2 separate regions of the Homo sapiens genome follow, and region 1 is linked to region 2. Evidence: promoter capture Hi-C in 16 types of primary human blood cells and fetal thymus (Javierre and others, 2016). All regions are on one chromosome and are shown on one strand. The core of a region is centred on a gene start or on the middle of the fragment in contact, and the rest is flanking DNA. Distances in the headings are between cores, read along the strand shown.

Evidence for each region. Contacts are between HindIII fragments. The CHiCAGO score rates a contact against its expected background, and 5 or more counts as called.
Region 1: a contact is called between the fragment with the promoter of OR10H4 here and a fragment that was not itself captured in region 2, in 1 of 17 cell types (M2 macrophages). The highest score is 5.9, in M2 macrophages.

The regions. Positions count from the first base shown.
Region 1 is chr19:15,947,679-15,952,990 of GRCh38, reverse strand. OR10H4 (olfactory receptor family 10 subfamily H member 4) reads right to left here and starts at 3,983. Exons shown (of 1, transcript NM_001004465.1): 1 at 3,033-3,983. The coding sequence starts at 3,983. The coding sequence ends at 3,033. The HindIII fragment of the contact is 16,967 bases long and covers 1-4,864 here.
Region 2 is chr19:15,003,719-15,009,065 of GRCh38, reverse strand. It overlaps a transcript of SLC1A6 not described here. Among named protein-coding and RNA genes, the nearest start is that of TEKTL1, 4.3 kb to the left of the region's middle. The HindIII fragment of the contact is 2,578 bases long and covers 625-3,202 here.

The DNA.
Region 1 (5,312 bases), core at 2,734-5,233, 940 kb before region 2:
TGCTCTCACTGTATTCCATAGGTTTTGGTAAGCCAGGCACAGAAATACAAACATCACATGTTCTCAAATATTTGTGGGATCTAAAAATCAAAACAGTTGAACTCATGAAGTTGCCAGAGGCTGGGAAGGGTAGTGATGGGTGATTGGGGGAGCAGGGGCAGATGGTTAATGAGTACAAAAAGTAGTTAGAATGAATAACATTTGATATTTGATAGCACAACAGGGTGACTATATTCAATAATAATGTAATTGTACATTTTAAAATAACTAAAAGTATAGCAGGATTGTTTTTAACACAAAAGATACATGCTTGAGGGGGTGGATACCCCATTTGCATGGTATGATTATTATTTATTGCATTCCTGTATGAAAACATCTCAAGTGACCCATAAATATATACACGTACTATATACACACAGACACAAAATATGTTTTTTAAAGTGGCAAAAGATATGAACAGACATTACTCAGAAGAAGACATAGAAAAAGCAAACAGGCATATTAAAAGATCCTGAACATCATTGATTTAGCAGAGAAATGGAAATCAAAACTACAATAAGAAATCATCTTATCCCAGTAAAAATGGCTTCTATCCAAAAGATAGGAAATAACAAATGCTGGTGAGGATGAGGAGAAAAGGGAACCCTTGTACACTGTTGTTGGGGATGTAAGTTAGTACCACCACTATGGAGAACAGTTTGGAAGTCCCTCAAGAAATGAAAAAAACAGCTACCATAACATCCAGTAATCCCACTGCTGGGTATATTCCCCAAAGAAAAGAAATCAGTGTATCAAAGAGATACCTGCTGTCCTATATTTATTCCAGCACTATTCACAATAGCCAAGATTTGGAAGCAATCAAAGTGTCCATCAACAGTTGAATAGATAAAGAAAATGTGGTACATATACATGATGGAGTACTATTCAGAATGAGATTCTGTCATTTGTAACCACATGGATGGAACTTGAGGACAATATATTCAGTAAAATACGCCAGACACAGAAAGACAAACTTTGCATGGTATCACTTATTTGTGGAAGCTAAGAATTAAAACAATTGAACTTATGAAGATAGAAAGTAGAATGGGTAACAGAGGCTGTTAAGGGTAGTTGGGGCTTCCGGGGGAAGTGGGAATGGTTATTGGGTACTAAAAAATAGTAGGAATGAAGATTAAGACCTAGTAATTGCTAGCATAACAGAGTGACTATAGTAAGAAACGATTTAGTTAATTATTAATTAAAACGCATCAATTAAAATACAGAGATTGTCACAGGGGGTCAAAAAAATAAGACTCAGATATAAGTTTTTTTTTTAACAAGAAAACCCTGTAAATATAAAGGCATATATAAGTGAAAAGTAAACAGATGGAGAAAGATATACCATAGCAACATGAGTCAAAAGAAAGTGGAAGAAAAAGGTAACAAAGTGGTTAACACTCACAACAGCTTGGCTCTTGGAAAAATTTTTGATTTATTTGTATAGAAAGTTCTGCTTCTGTAGCACTTTCATAGGACACATTTAATGCCATTTCCATCATTAACTATGTCACTTCATCATCTGTGACCATATGCCCAGAGGGTCTCTCACTGGTTGCTATGGTGCAACCATAGCAGACATGCAACGATGAGAAGCACACATGCGAGTCTTGCCCAGAGTATGCAGGATAAGGGAAAGGATAGTTTGTTTTTGTTTGGAGTTTTATAACATAAACAAAGAATAAAACTTCTTCCAACCATGTCACCTTTTGACTTTTTAAGGCCATGATCTCTGCTTTCCTAGAATGAAATCTCTTTCCATGTTGACCTTCACATTCCAGCAGCAGCAGGAAGCACAGGTGAATGGCACTATGAGTAGCATTAGAAGAGCAGTCACACTGTAAAAATAATATTCATTCCTCAGCTGGTGGAACCAATGGCCAGAAACAGAAAACCAGAAAATTGATACATCCATTGGAGGCAAGGAAGTACATATCTTAGAATGACACATTGAGACTGCAGAGCAACTGTGTCAAAAACGCTGGGATGAGACACGTGGCTATCTTATTAGGCTACCTTATTAGCCCTATTATTAGGACATATTAAAGCCCTATTACCAACCTCCTTTTTTCTATTTTGCCCCAAATTCTTAGTTATTACATTTCCTGTACAGATAAAAAATTTAAAGAACTCTCTTTTTACTTGACACCTGCTTTCTCTCTCTCCCTCTCTCTCTCTCTGTCTTTTGCTCTTTCTTCTGTCTCTGTATCTCTCTCTCTTTCTTCTGTCTCTGTCTCTGTATATATGTATACATATATATGTATACATATATATGTATATATGTATACATATGTATGTATATATATATATGTATATATGTATACATATGTATGTATATATATATGTATACATATATATGTATATATATATGTGTGTGTGTATATATGTATGTGTATATATATATATATCTCCTTCTTGCCCTCTCTCAACGTTTGCATTCTAACATCTTTCATTCAACTCAACATATTAATATCCACACACAAACTTAGGGTATATCTCTCCCAAAGACAGTGAGGAACTTTAAATAAGAAACCAGTTTATCTGAGGCAAATAGTTTATTTTCCTTTGTACATTTCTTCTAATTAAAAGGATAATATTTATAAAACACTGGACACAGTGCCAATACATAGAAAAAGCTCAGTGCTGGGTGGCATTTATGACTATCATGTTATTCTTGCTTTTTCTTACACTAGGGGAAAATAAAATCTTTTTTGCCTGTCCATTCAAGAAGAACTGTGTTCATAAGTGCCCAGACACATCCACGTGATGATCCCCACCTGTCCGTGGACAGAAAACACATTTCTAGGCACAGATAATGGGATAAAGGTCATCATAATGGCTCATAAAGAAAAGATTATGATCACTTGAGCTTAAGCAAAAAGGGAAGGGAAAACAATAGCTAGTATGTATCAAACACATATTTTCACATACCTGAACACTTACAACAGCCCTATGGAGATACACATTATTATATTTCATCACCACCAAACTGGCGCTCAGGAACTTGGAGGACAGAATTTTCTGTAAAAGTTTTTATTTATGGCATTCTTCAGCTCCTTGTTCCTTAGGCTGAAAATGATTGGGCTAAGGAAGGGGGTGAAGACAGTATAGGTGGTGGCCATCAAGGCGTCACTGTACATAGAATGGAGGCCCTTGGGCTTGAGGTAGATAAAGGAGGCAAAACTATAGTGCGTGACCACCACAGTGAGGTGGGATACACACGTAGAAAATGTCTTGTGCCGGCCTTCGGCAGAGGGAATCCTCAAGATGGCAGCCACAATGAAGACATAGGAGAGGATGATGAGGAATAAACAGCCTATCAGGGCTGTGACACACACCAGCATCACACCCATGATGACAGATGATGTCTTGTTTTCACAGGCCAACTTCAAGAGGGAAAGCACATGACAGAAAAAATGGTGGATCACATTAGACCCACAGAAAGTGAGGTGGAAAACTATCGTTGTCACCATCATCCCCATGACTGAGCCACCAGCCCAGGTACAGGCCACAAGATGGGCACAGTCACGGGGGCTCATGAGCACATTGTAACGCAGTGGGTGGCAGATGGCCACATAGCGATCATAGCCCATGACCAGGAGAAGGAAGGAGTGAGTGAAGCCAAACATGAAGGAGAAGAACATCTGGTTGGCACAAGCCACAAAGGTGATGGAATGATGGGTGGAAAGCAGATCAGCCAGCATGCGAGGGGTGATGGCAACAGTGAACAGAATCTCAGAGACGGAGAGGGTGCACAAGAAGAGGTACATGGGTGTGTGGAGTCTGTGTTCAATCCAGATTGTGGCCATGATGAGAAGGTTGCCCAGCAATGTGAACAGGAACATCAGGAGGTACAGCAGGAACAAGATGGGCAGGAGGTGCTGGGGGAAGGCTGAGAAGCCAAAGAGGTTAAATTCAGATATGATGCTATAGTTCTGACTAGGCATGGATACTGTATCTGGTGAGATCAGAAACAAAATTAAGTGACAGTGGTTAAAACATAGACTCTATCACAGACCAAATGGCAACTCAACAGCTCTATGCTATTCAACAACCAGCAGAATTTTCTGGGTCTCACTTTCCTCATCTGTAAAATGGAATAAATAATAATAGTTCTTAACATTCAGCAATGTGACAAAGATCAAATGAGATCACTATATTAGATGATCAAGTCAGATTTTGGCTACTAATTGGGTTTCTATTAACACTGACTAACATAAAGAAAAGGTTCAATACTTGGAGCCATTAGAGACCAGCATAGATGATCAGGGTCAGGTTCTCTTGATAATGTGCCAGTTCTAGAAAACATGTATTTTGATCTTGGGGTTTAAATCTTTTTTCCCTGGGAGTCTTTGTCTTTTAGTTGCTTATTTAACCCATTTACATTTATTTTAATACTGTTTTATTGGTACTCATTTATGCCATCTAATTTCAAATGGTGCATTTACTATTCTAAAAAAATTGAACAGAAAATTTGAAAAGAAATGGCTGGATACATACATGTCAGACAAATATGCACCAAATAAAAGCTGAGGTTGCAATCTTAATAATAATAAAAGGTGGAATCTAAGGAAACAGTGATCACAATGTCTTTAATACCATATGCCACTGCAGGGAACCAGAGTTCCTTGAGACATGGCAAATCTGTGATCTGGACATGGAAGAAAGCCTTGGATATCTTGTACCAGTGTGAAATGAAACCTTCACTAAGTAATGGGATAATATTAAAAGACTGCAAGTACTAGATTGAAAAGATGCCCACTAGTCAAAAAGAATAATCATTGTACAGAAGATGGAGGAATAAGCTAAATGACAATGTGAGGAAGCTTTCAGAAAAATTCAGAAGGTGGATAATTCCACAGAACAATTGGTCTGGTCTCATTGATAAAGGCTCATCCAAAAGATAAGAGAGATTCGGGGACATAGCAACTGGATGCAACATAGGGGACCAGTTGAATCTTCATTTCCATAACCAGCTGTAAGTATTTTTAAGGCAATGGAGAACATTTTGATTATAGTATGAATGAATGATTAGGTATGAGTAATATTAAAGCATTATTATTGATCTAATTACTAATTATTTAGAGACAGGTCTTGCTCTGTCCCCCAGGTTAGAGTAGGATCGTGATTCACTGCATCCCGGAACTCCTGGGCTCAAGCAATCCTCTGCCTCAGCCTCCTAAATAGCTGGGACTACAGTTGTGTGCCACCTCACCTGTCTAATTAAAAAAAAATTTTTTCCATAGAGACTGGGCCTCACATTCTTGCCCAAACTA
Region 2 (5,347 bases), core at 664-3,163:
GATAGCATATCTATGTGATCTGTGTAGATAGCATATATGTATATTTTATATATATATGTTTATATATTTGAGACAAGATCTCACTCCAATTTCCCAGGCTGAAGTGCAGTGGCATGATCTCGGCTCACTGCAACCTCTGCCTCCCAGGCTCAGCTGATTCCATCACCTTGGCCTCCTGAATAGCTGAAATTACAGGTGCCTGCCTGTAAAAAAAAAAAAAACGCGAATTATTTTTGTTTTTTTAGTGGAGGTGGGGTTTTTGCCATGTTACCCAGGTTGGTTTCAAACTCTTGGACTCAAGCAATTCGACTTCCTTGACCTCCCAAAATGCTGAGATTACAGGGGGAAATCACCGCACCCAGCTTGTATACCATATTTTAACATCCAATCATCTGCTAATGGACACATAAGTTGATTCCATAACTTTGCTATAGTGAATAGTGCTGCCATAAACATGTAAGTGTGGATGTCTTTTTAATATAATGATTTCTCTTCCTTTAGGTATATACTCAGCAGTGGGATTGCTGGATCAAAGGGCAGTTCTATTTTTAGTTCTTTGAGAAATTGCCATCTGTTTCCCTAGAGGTTGTACTAATTTGCATCCCCACCAACAGTGTATAAGCTTTCCCTTTTCTCTGCATCCTTGCCAACCTCTGTTTTTTTTTCTTTTTACTTTTAAAATAATAGATATTCTGTATATATATATCTCTCTTTTTCTAAAGAGACTGAGCCCCACTTTGTGGCCCAGGCTGGAGTGCAGTGGGGGGATCATGGTTCACTGCAGCCTCCAACTCCTGATATCAAGCCATCCTTCTGCCTCAGTCTCCCAAAAAGCGAGGACTATAGGCGCACGCCACCACACTTGGCTAATTTTTAAATTTTGTGTAAAGACAGAGTCTTGCTAACATTGCCCAGGCTGGTCTCAGACTCCTGGGCTCAAGCAGTCCTCCCACCTCAGCCTCCCAAAATGGTGAGATTATAAGCCTGAGCCACTGCACCCAGACTCATTGTGTGTGTGTGGTTGGTTTTTTTTTGGGGGGGGGGCAGACTTTTGATCTTGTTTCCCAAGCTGGAGTGCAGTGGCATGATCTCGACTCACTGCAACCTCTGCTTCCTGGGTTCAAGCGATTCTTCTGCCTCAGCCTCCCGGGTAGCTGGGATTACAGGTGCGTGTCACCACACCCGGCTAATTTTTGTATTTTTAGTAGAAATGGGGTTTCACCATGTTAGCCAGGCTGGTCTCAAAGTCCTGACCTCAGATGATCCACCCGTCTCGCCCCCACAAAGTGCTGGGACCACAGGTATGAGCCACCGTGCCCGGCCTCTCATTGTGATTTTAATTGGCATTTCTCTGATGATTGACTCTAAGAGCCTCTAGAACAGGAAGCATGCTAGTCTTGTATCCTCAGTGTCTGTATAGTTCATAGCACATAGTGGGTCCTTAATACACATAGGATAAAGAAACGGATGGAATCAATCACATGCTATGATCATCTTACTTGATTTTTTTTTGTGAGATGAAATTTTCATAAATACAATGAATGATTTTAAGGTGCACAATTCAGAGGCATTAACACCTTCACAGTGTGGTGCAATCACCACTTGTATCGAATTCTAGAACACTTCACCAATCCCCAAATAAAACCTCATCCCCACGAGCGCTCACTCTCATTCCCCTGTCCCCTCAGCTCCTGGTAACCACTCATCTGCTCCCTGTCTCTGTAGATTTGCCTGTTCTGGACATTTCATGTCAATGGAGTCTCACACTATGTGGCCTTTTGTATCTGGTTTCTCTCACTCAGCATCGTGTTTTCCAGATTTGTCCATGTTGTAGCACGGATCAGTGCTTCTGTCCTTTTCATGGCTGAATCATATTCCATTGCATTTATATACCATAACTTTGTTTATCCATCTGACCAATGATGGACATTTGTTTTTCACTTGTGAGCTTCATGAGGGCATTGACCTCGCCTCTCCTATTTACCATTGTATTCCACTACCGAGCACCCAGCACAGATAGTGGCTCATGGCAAGCACTCAATACGTACTTATTAGAGGAATACGTAAGTGGAAGAATCAATACATGTTTTATTTTTATTTTATTTTATTTTTTCAGACAGGATCACACTCTGTCACCCAGGCTGGAGTGCAGTAGCACGATCATGGCTCACTGCAGCCTCAACCTCCTGGACTCAAGGGATCCTCTCACTCTCAGCCTCCTAAGTATCTAGGACTACGGGCATGTGCCACCATGCATAGCTTATTTTTAAATTTTCTTTTCTTTTCTTTTTCTTTTTTTTTTTTTGTAGAGACAGGGTCTTGCTATCTTTCCCTGGCTGGTCTTGGTCTCCTGGCCTTAAGTAATTCTCCTGCCTCGGCCTACAAAGGTGCTGGGATTACAGGCATGAGCCACCGTGCCTGTCCAAATATTTTCGTATTGAGTGAATGAGAGGTGCGACAGTCAAGAAAGAATGAATGACCCTGGGTTTGTAATCAAGGGATCATTCAGTAATGGGGGGTGGGGGGAATAAGATGGGCAACCAGCGACTCCCACGCCAGCCATCCTGGAGACCCGCCGTTATGTTCTTTAGGGCCACTAGCAAGAAATGGGGCCAGATAACCTTTGGCGATGGAGGCTTGGGAATATGGGGTTAGCACAGTCATTTGCTGCTGGGACCAGTGGTATCTGGTTCAACAAATTTTCATGAGCATCAGGAGGATATTATGGTCTGTATTCTGGATCCAGATGAACTAGGATTCAAATTATGATTCTGCCACTTGCTGTCTACGTGATCTCGAGCAATTCACTTAACATCTCTGTGCCTGCGTTGCCCCATCTGTCAACTCAGGTAATAGGATTGTGGCATGGAGACAATGAGTTAATATGAATGAAGTGCTTAGCACCATGGCTGACACCTAGTAAGCATTATGTAAGTGTTTACTTTTGACTTTTATTAATAGAATGAATCCATGAATGAGCTATTTCAAAACCAGAAGAGGTCCAGAGAGGGTTTCACAAAGAACCAGGGAGACACCTCATGTGAGATGACCTGCACACAACCATCTACCTTTGCTTTGTTCATGAAGTACGTCCACCTTCCCAACCAGGGGATCTCATTTGGGTAGGCTTGCTGCCTGGTGTATGAAGCACCTCTGTTGGGCAGAACTTGTACCAAGCTACCTGAGAGACGCTTAGGAAGCTTCCTCATGCCAGATCTGCATGTGAGGATTTTGGCTTCCACATGGCTCTCTGGTGAAATGCATTAGGGCTATGCAGGCTGTTACATTCTGGCTTTTTATTAGTTTAACACGCTGACACCAACACGCTGCTAGTATATGATACTATTATCTAAGCATTGAAATTGGTGCAGACCATTGCTTAATCAGACCAACTTCTCATTTCCATCTCCCAATCCCAGTTTCCATTCTCTATATCAACTTCCAAAAACTCACTGCTAGCTCCTGGCTTTGATGACCCATTTTGGACACTTCTCTAGCCTGATATGTATTTGAAGAACAGGTGAGTTATCTGGTTTTTTTGTTTTTTTGTTTTTGTGAGAAGGAGTTTCACTCTTGTTGCCCAGGCTGGAGTGCAGTGGCGCGATCTCGGTTCACTGCAACCTACGCCTCCCAGGTTCAAGTGATTCTCCTGCCTCAGCCTTCTGAGTAGCTGGGATTACAGATGCCCACCACCACGCCCAGCTAATTTTTTGTATTTTTAGTAGAACAATTTGTTCACCATTGTTGGCCAGGCTATTCGTGAACTCCTGACCGCCACCGTGCCCTGCTTTTTTTTTTTTTTTTTTGAGACAGGGTCTTGCTTTGTCACCCAGAGTAGAGTACAGTGGTACCATCATGGCTCACTGCAACTTTGAACTCCTGGGCTTAAACAATCCTCCTGCCTCAGCCTCCTGGGTAGCTGGCCCTATGGGCATGTGCTACCATGCCTGGCTAATTTAAAAATGTTTTTGTAGAGACACGATCTTGCTATGTTGCCCAGGCTAGTCTCAAACTCCTGGACTCAAACAATCCTCCCGCCTTGGCCTACCAAAGCTCTGGGGTTTCAGATGTGAGCAACTGTGCCTGGCCTGTCTGGAAGGAACCATTCATTGCTGGGCTGGGATTAGCTCTCATTTTCCAAGTGATTCACCTGCGTGTGTCTGAACAGAAACAGTGATGTTCAAAAAATCTACAGAAACATTATGTACACAAGACCGAGGACTAGGAAAATTTTTCAGTACTCTCCAAGCCTAAATACCTCTCTTAAACTAACAAATAAGCTATGAAAGCAAGGTATGCACCTTGTATAAAATGTATAAAATATGGGAAACATAATGAAATGAATAAGAATCTTTTTTTTTTTTCTGGAGACAGAGTCTCACTCTGTCACCCAGGCTGAAATGAAGTGGCACAATCTTGGCTCACTAAAGCCTCCAACTCCTGGTCTCAAGAGATCTCTTGCTTCAGCCTCCTGAATAGCTGGAACTACAGGTGCATGCCATCACAATTGACTTTTTTTTTTTTTTGTAGAGGTGAGGTCTTGCTATGTTGCCCAGTCTGGGTCTTGAACTCCTGGCTTCAAGCCATCCTCCTGCCTCACCCTCTCAAAGTGCTGGGATTATGGCCACAAGCCACCATGGCCAGCCTTATTTTTTGTTTTACTATCCAGAGATACTTATTCTGAACTTGATCTTGATTTCACTCTAACCATTTCCACATTCATTCCCCCACCATGCCTCTGTGTGTGTGTGTGTATGTGTGCATGCATATACACAACTATACATATTTCCCTTCTCCCAATATACTGAAGCCCAAATACTTCTAACTCAGGCCAATAGGGAGTTATATTTCTTTGTGAAATTAGCTCTCTGATTTTTATTTATTTTATTTATGCATTATTAATTTTTTTAGAGACAGAGTCTTGCTCTGTTGCTCACGCTGGAGTGCAGTGGTGTGATCTTGGCTCACTGCAACCTCCTCCTCCTGGGTTCAAGCAATTCTCCTGCCTCAGCCTGCTGAGTAGCTGGGACTACAGGGGCCCACCACCACGCCCAGCTAATTTTTTGTATTTTAATAGAGATGGGGTTTCTCCATGTTGCCCAGGTTGGTCTCGAGCTCCTGAGCTCAGGCAATCCACCCGGCTTGGCCTCCCAAAGTGCTAGGATTACAGGCATGAACCACCACACCTGGCAGCTCTCTTGATTTTTATAATAAAGAACACTTTATAGAAATTCCTTTTTGCAACTTTGCTGGGGCCACCTGTTCTATATACTGATTCATGCAATGTAGGGAGCAGAATTCTGCTTTTGGGCGAAATCGAGTGAAATTGCAGAATGGATGAAGAAGG